Linked DNA regions of Homo sapiens: region 2 is linked to region 1. The links are contacts of gene promoters, found by promoter capture Hi-C in human tissues and cell types (Jung and others, 2019). All regions are on one chromosome and are shown on one strand. The core of a region is centred on a gene start or on the middle of the fragment in contact, and the rest is flanking DNA. Distances in the headings are between cores, read along the strand shown. Region 1 holds the start of SETD1B (SET domain containing 1B, histone lysine methyltransferase). Region 2 overlaps KDM2B (lysine demethylase 2B).

What was found. Contacts are between HindIII fragments. The study calls those that stand out against the background at their distance.
Region 2: a contact is called between a fragment that was not itself captured here and the fragment with the promoter of SETD1B in region 1, in 1 of the 25 tissues and cell types used here (dorsolateral prefrontal cortex).

The regions. Positions count from the first base shown.
Region 1 is chr12:121,802,020-121,805,258 of GRCh38, reverse strand. SETD1B (SET domain containing 1B, histone lysine methyltransferase) reads right to left here and starts at 1,250. Exons shown (of 17, transcript NM_001353345.2): 1 at 1,026-1,250; 2 at 348-535; 3 at 43-141. The coding sequence starts at 521. LINC01089 (long intergenic non-protein coding RNA 1089) reads left to right here and starts at 2,313. Exons shown (of 4, transcript NR_152740.1): 1 at 2,313-2,628. RefSeq lists silencers at 956-1,015, 1,056-1,185, 1,456-1,705. The HindIII fragment of the contact is 28,947 bases long and covers 1-3,239 here.
Region 2 is chr12:121,516,374-121,520,632 of GRCh38, reverse strand. The region is part of intron 9 of KDM2B (lysine demethylase 2B); the gene reads left to right. Among named protein-coding and RNA genes, the nearest start is that of KDM2B-DT, 62 kb to the left of the region's middle. RefSeq lists an enhancer at 1,490-2,063. The HindIII fragment of the contact is 5,809 bases long and covers 1-4,259 here.

The sequences.
Region 1 (3,239 bases), core at 1-2,500:
GAGGTGGGGGAGGGACGGCGGGGCAGTGGGGAGGGGTCCTACCTTGAATTTGGGCACCGACAGCTCCAGCTCCTTGTTTTTGGTCCAGATCCCGACGACCCGGGGATCTTCGACAATTTCCACCGGGCGGTTGCTGGACATCTGTGGGGAGAAATTGGGGGGCCGGGATGAGAGAACTGGTCCCCCTCCCCATGGGCAGACCCCTTTCTCGAGGCACTTGTCAAACTCCAGGGCTGGGGCCCCGTCTGACAGTTGGCCGGGGGATCGGGCGGGGGGTCCCTGGCCGCTAGGCGCGTCTCCCCGGACACGACGCGGGGCACGGCTGGGGGGGCGCGCCGGCTACTCACCGCCAGGCTGAAATGCTGCCCATCGTAGCGGTACAGTTTATGATGCCCCTTTTTCAGAGCCGGGTCAATCATCAACTTGTAACTTCTCCAATGGTGGTTCCTCCTCTCGCCCGAAGGGCCGGGCTGCGGCGGGGGCTGCTGGTGGTGGTGGTGGGGGGGGTGACTGTTCTCCATGCCGTTAACCCAACCTGAAAACCAGCAAGTTGTTGTCGTCTCCGCCGCGGCGGCGGCGGCGGCCGCTTCTACACACACGCGAAAGAATCCAATCGGCAGGCCCCCACCCCCTCCCACCTTGCCAGCGCGCCCCGAAAGGAGCTGTCTCGCTGGCTCCCCCCAAAACAAGAATGGAGCGAGAGAATAACCCTTCCGGGAGAATTACGCGCCCGCCCGCTCGGCCACCGTCTCGGGGCGGCAGCGAGGGGCTCCCGGGGGTCCCCTGGGCGGGCTGGCGGGGCCCGGGGCGCCCGGAGGACGCGGACTCCGGCCCATGGTGCCCGCCCGGCCGCCCGGCGTGGCGCTCACCCGCTAGCTCGGCCCGGCTCTGGCGCGAGGCTGGCGGCAGGGCCTGGCGGCGCCGCCGCCCGCCCGCCCGCTCGCCCGCTCGGGCCAGGGCCGGGGCCGGGGGCTTGGGCCGCCCGGCTGCCGGCCGCGGCCTCTCCCTCCCCGAGCCGCGCTTACATCCCCGCCGGGCGCCGGCCTCCCTGCGCCGCCAGCCAGTACATGGTGTCCCCCGAGGGAGCCGAGGCCGGGGCGGCCGGACCGGGGGCCAGGAAGGGGGGGCGCCGCCGCCGCGGCTGCCGGGCCCGGAGCTGCTGCCGCTGCCGCCGCCGCTGCTGCTGCTGCTGCCCGGGAGGCGGCTGGCGGCGGAGGCTCGGCTCCCAGTAGCCGCACATCCCACAATACACCGCTAAGGAGCCCGACCCGAGCGCTCACCCTCCTCCTCTTCCTCCTCCTCCTCCTCTTCCTCCTCCCCTCTCCTTCCTCGCCGCTTCCCCAGGCACTCTCCCGGCGGCGGCAGCTGCGCCGCCAAAGCCCCGGGCCCCAGCGGCCCCCCACCCCTCACTCGCGCGCTCCCACACTGCCTCCCCCTCCCCGGGGGAAGGCCTTTTAATTTATTTATTTTTCTGGGACTGGGGTGGGGGTCTTGGCTGGCGGGGGAGGGGGTCTCCCCGGGCTCTACCTCCCGCGGCCGGGACTACCCTCAGAGCCGCGACCGCCGCGGCGTGCGTCCCGGGCCTGCAAAACTGTTTCCAAACTGCCCGGGCCGGAGGCGGGCGCGCGGGGCCCGGGGAGATGGCTGGGGTCTGGGGGGCCGAGGGTGTGTGTGGACGCTGGGAGCCGCGGGGGGAGGCCGGCGTCGACTCAGAGGAGTTGCAATCGAGGTATCTGCGCTCCGGCTTCCTCCTGCGGCCCGCGACCCCCTCCCCGGAGCTGAGCTGGGGAAGGGAGACCAGGGTTCACCACGTTAGCATTCGCATTCCTGGGAGGATGCAGCCCTCGCCTGGACCTGGGCGATAGACGCCTTCTTCTGTTTTTATTTTTGGAGGGGAGCGCCCTGTAATTGTCCTGAACACATGCTTCCCCCCCTTCCTCCAGCCACCCGCGGAGGAGAGAGTCCCCCTTTTTTGCATTTATCTTTTCCTTCCCCTTTCTTTATTAAAGGTCCGGGAGTGGCGGCGGCCAATCAGCGCGCGGCTTCCATTTTGTGAGTTCAACTCCGAGGCTCCCGGGCTTCGCGAGGACGCGTTTGCAGCCCCCTCTGCCGCTCCTCTCTGGCGGCCGAGGCGCAGGAGCCGCCTCGCCGGGGCTCGGAGCTGGTGTAGCTCATATTGGGGCTCTTTTCGGGGTTTGTAATTTGGCCGTGGGTAGGTAATTGGCTGGAGCAGGGCGGCAGGGCGCGGCAGCCAATCAGCGCGCGGCTTCTATAGGGCTTGAGTTATTAGACGCTGATCTCAAAACATCCTTCATCAGACACGAAGGAGAGGCCAACAGATGAGGGAAGCCATTTTTCTGCAATGGAATTAAATGGCCAAGTGGGTTTTTCCTTTGTTGCAAATGGGGAATGTTTTTCCTTTGACTCTACCATCCAGTTCAGGACGTCTCAGTGTGTTTAACATTTGTCAACAGGCCCAAGGACTCACAGTTGGAAGACTGGAGAAGACTTTTTAAAAAGATCTGGATTTTTCCTTATGACTTGGAATCCATCTTTGTCTTGTATAACTAGGTCATAGCACACCATTCATGTCAGCAGTTAACAGTTTTGAATTCCAAAAAAACCTAAGTAAATGACATATTTTTTTTCCTCTTTTTGTTCTATGGGTGGGTGGGGGGAGCTTGGAGCTGTCTTAATCTGTATTCTCTTGACTGAACAATAAATTTTTAAATATATCTAGTTTCCTCTATTAAACACTTAAACCTGGCCATCTTATTAACTCCTTCTCTCTTTTTAACAAGGTAATGTTTTAAATGTATATAGCTTTAGGACTAGCGAAATGGCAGCAACAAAAAATTGTGAGCAGTTGTTACTCTTTTAGTTTTTAAAAAACCTTTTACATTGTAAGTACCCAATCCATTCTGTCCTGACGCAGTACAGTTTTGATGTTAATGTTGCTGAGATGTCCTTAATTTTCCGAACCTTCATCTGCATGTATGTCTTTGTCTCTCTTGTCTAATATAAGCCAGTTAAGATGCTTGAGACGATCTTGCTTTATAAAGCTAAGGTTCTAGCTTTATGCTTTTGAAAATGTTTACAGCACTAAATGCTAGTCAGCTTTCTTCCCCGTAGCTTGTACACTTTCTTTGAAAATCGATCTATTTGAAGAAAAACAGCCCTGTTTTTCTCGTCTTTGGTGTTGGGGGTTGGGGGGAGCTGGTGGGTGAGGGAAAGGAAGA
Region 2 (4,259 bases), core at 573-3,072, 290 kb after region 1:
TGTTGTTTGGAGGATGGGTGTGGACCTTGGAAGGGCCTGTCCTGGTCTGAGGTCAGGTCTTGGCTATATGTTCTCCCAGGGACCCCAGATCTGACTGGGGAGGAAGCCTGAGGAAGCCAGTGCCTGAGTCCCCCTGGGTACTGTCTCTGAGGTAGTCTCCATGTCTGCTGAGGACGTCTCTAGTTTCCTGGGGCCGAGGCTTTTCTCTGCCCTTGACAGGGACGGTGCTAGTTTCCCAGACGTCAAGTTTCCCTCACTCACCCCATGTCCTACGAACATGGGCGGAGGCTTAGGTAACTGATGTGTGTCCTTCGCTCCACAAGTGTCCCCTGAAAAGGACAAGTGGCCTGAACTTGCCATGGCCTTTCTCGTGCTAGGACTTGATCACGTGTCCCTAGGCACATAAGACAGGTCCCAAACTGGGTCAAAACTGAAGACTTGGGGCCGGGCGCGGTGGCTCTTGCCTGTAATCCCAGCACTTTGGGAGGCCGAGGTGGGTGGATCACTTGAGGTCAGGAGTTCGAGACCAGCCAGGCCAACATGATGAAACCCTGTCTTTACCAAAAATACAAAAAAGCTGGGCGTGGTGGTGTACGCCTGTAGTCCCAGCTACTTGAGAGGCTGTGGTGGGAGGGTCGTTTGAGCCCGGGAGGCGGAGGTTGCAGTGAACCGAGATCACGCCACTGCACTCCATCCTGGGCGACAGAGCCGGACCTGTCTCATACTAAAAAACAAAGAAACAAACAAAACCCAGAGACTTGGGGTAAAAAAGTCCCATTTCTTGTTCTACTTGTTCCTGTTTTTTCAACACAGCTATTCAAATATTCATTTTCTTTTAAATTGAGATATAATTCATATACCCTAAAATTTACCATTCAAAGTATACAATTCAGTGGTTTTAGTATCTTTATAAGATTGTGTCATGATCACCACTAATTCCAGAACATTTTCATCACCCCAAAAAGAAACCTTGTACCCACAAGCAGTCACTTCCTGTGTCTCCCCACCTTTCCCCTGGCTAGCCCTAATCTATTTTCTATCTCTGTGGATTTGCCTATTCTGGACATTTGATGTAAATGGAGTCATTCAACATGTGGCCTTTTGTGTCTGGTTTCTTTCATGTAGCATAATGATTTCCAGGTTCATCCACATTGTAGCATGTGCCAGAGCTTCATTCCTTTTCATGGCTGAATAATATTCCATTCTGTAGCCAGACCACACCATTTCTTCTTGGGATTTGCTTCTGAGATGGCTTTTTGCCCCAGTGAGGTGTTGCTCTGCATAGATCTAAGGAGAGGTCTCACAAGGGCACCTGCTCTGTACCAAGCCCCTGTCTCTCCTGGTCTTGTTTTCAGGCCTTGGTTTGCACAAAATCACATACATGAGCAAAGTATTAGCTGCTGCCTTTGTATCTGAACATTGAACAGTCCCGGCATTGTGGGCCCATGTCTGGGGGTTTCCTGGAGACCACCTGGAGTTGAGTTCAGTGGTCAGATGTTGTGAGGCATGTGTACCTCTGCAGATTGACACGTGACGCCTAGATCTGGAGAGACCTGGGTCTGGGCTGGGGCTCCATGGGAGACCATCGTTTTGTGGACTTTTTCCCCTCACCTCTCTGTGGCCCACCATCCCCATCCCACCTGGGGAAGGCCAGCCCCCACCCTGGTCTGGAGGAGCCGCCCCATGCCATTCAGGAGAAAGGCACTGTTTGGATACAAGCGGTCACCTCACAGTCTGGGTCAATGCTGTCTGGGGCTCCGGCCAACTGTTCTTTGGCCTGTCCTGGAGTACAGGCCAGTTTGTGCACGAGCAGACGTGTGGAATAGAGATGGAGAAATCTAGTGGAAGTCAGGCCCACGACTTTCCAGGCAATTCCTGAAAGCCGGAGTCAGGCTGGGATTTCTAAAGGCTGTGGCTACTTGCTGGACAACCACCCCGTCCCCCTGGGAATTCAATTGTAAACTCAGCGGATTTGGGCCCCATGGTTCCCTTAGGAGCCCAGGTCCCTTCCCCCACCCATGACGACTGGCAGGGTGCTGGCCGGACCCCTGAGCATCACACTGAGCTTACGTGGAATATCACGTCCTCGTTGAGAATGGCAGGTCCCCTCCCCCACCGGGGCCTACTGTCCCTTCCCCTGAGTGGGCACCCCATCTGGTTTCACCGAAGCAGGCTGGCAGCGGGGGCTTGGGGGCAGACTGGGCTGGGAGCAGCGGCAGGTTGTTTAATCTGCCTTGATTTCTGGTCTTGAGAGAGGGACTTGGCTACGAGGCCCAATTGTTTATGCCTTAGGAGCCAAGGCAGACAAAAGGCACTGGGGAGAGAATTCTGGAACCAGATAAGATGCCAGGGCTCTTTGTTAGCTCACTACAGCTTCATTCTTTACAGCCCTGAGAGCTTTCTTAAGAAGGTTATGGCCATTTAAAAATACTGTTTTATAGGCTGGGCATGGTGACTCACGCCTGTAATCCCAGCACTTTGGGAGGCCAAGGCGGGCGGATGATCTGAGGTCAGGGGTTCGAGACCAGCCTGACCAACATGGTGAAACCCTGTCTCTACTAAAAATACAAAAATTAGCCGAGCATGGTGGTGTGTGCCTGTAATCCCAGCTACTCAGGAGGCTGAGGCAGGAGAATTGCTTGAACCCGGGAGGCAAAGGTTGCAGTGAGCTGAGATCGCACCACTGCACTCCAGCCTGGGCAACAAGAGCGAAACTCCATCCCCCCCCTCAAAAAAAGTGTTTTAAGAGTCCTAAAACATGGCTTTGCCTGGAAACCAAATGCAGGAGGTGGGACAGAGGGAACCATCGGTCAGTCTCCAAGCTCCATGGTGTGGCTTTGTCTTAGAAAAAGAATTTGCCTGGCCAGGCGCCGGTGGCTGACGCCTATAATCCCAGCACTTTGGGAGGCCAAGGCAGGCGGATGATCTGAGGTCAGGAGTTCGAGACCAGCCTGGCCAACATGGTGAAACCCCATCTCTACTAAAAAAATACAAAAATTAGCCAGGCATGGTGGTTCATGCCTGTAGTCCCAGCTAATCGGGAGGTTGAGGCAGGAGGATTGCTTGAACCCAGTAGGCAGAGGTTACAGTGTGCTTAGATTGAGCCACTGCACTCCAGCCTGGGCGACAGAGCGAGACTCCATCTCAAAAAAAAAAAAAAGAAAAGAAAAAGAATTTGCCTTTGTGGCCCAAGGTGGGGACCCCTATCTAAACTAGGGAACCCCAGGGTTCCCTAGGAAGCTGTGTCTTACCTTCACCATTTAAATTTTTCTGGCGAGATGATAGGTGACCCCATCCTGCAATGTCACTGCCCATGAGGTGGCACGAACATATACAGGTGTTTGGGGAATGGTGGATTTCCATTCCCCAACCCTTGTAGATGAAATCTCCCCTTCCCCTCATCCTGAAGCTATGAAGAGTGATGGAAGAGTGACAGCAACGAGTGGATATGTTGTGCATTTGATACTTAAGACAACATCTCGATCATCACTACATTCTTTTAACTTCAGTTAGGTTGATAGGGAATAGGTATGGTCCAAATGATCATTAAATTGCCATCTCTCTTATATTTATCTTTTATTTATCTTTCCCCCCCTCCCAGTGGCTCTAGTGAAAGCAGCCTTCCCAGAAAAGGTAATGCCGACATGCCCCATTCCCTTACAGCCACTGAATCTATTTGGAAATTGCAAATAATTTACCTTCCCTCTCCCCTTCCCCCTACCATTGGACTTTTTTTTTTTTCCATTGATTTTTTTTTTTTTTTTTCCAGGAGAAAAACAAATTGTAGGACACTTCCACCCACTCTCACATTTTGACTTTTTCAAGTCCTTGAGACCTGGGAGTTCTAGATACACTCGAGAAACCTTTTGTTGTCATCTCCTGAGGTCACTCAGCTTGAAGATGACTTGGACCTCCGAGGAAGGGCTGAGGCCAGGTGCCGCTGAGTGGGCCCTGAGGTCCTCTGGTAGACGGATGACCTGCAGGCTGGGAGCATTGCATGCCTTGTGACTGCCTTGCCTTTTGTTTTGGACTGACGTTGGTTAACTCAATTTGGTGAGGCTCCGAGTCTGTCAACAAATAATGTTGAGCAACCGTATGTTTAATGTCCCCAGGCATGTGGCTGAAACCTTTTGAAGGCGAAGGGTGGAAGGCGACAACCTGTTTGTAAGTCAATTCTTTGCAAATTTTTGTTTCCCGCAGTCCTCTCTTGGAAAAAAAAATAAATAAATAAATAAAAATTTGAATTCCTTCATCAGCAT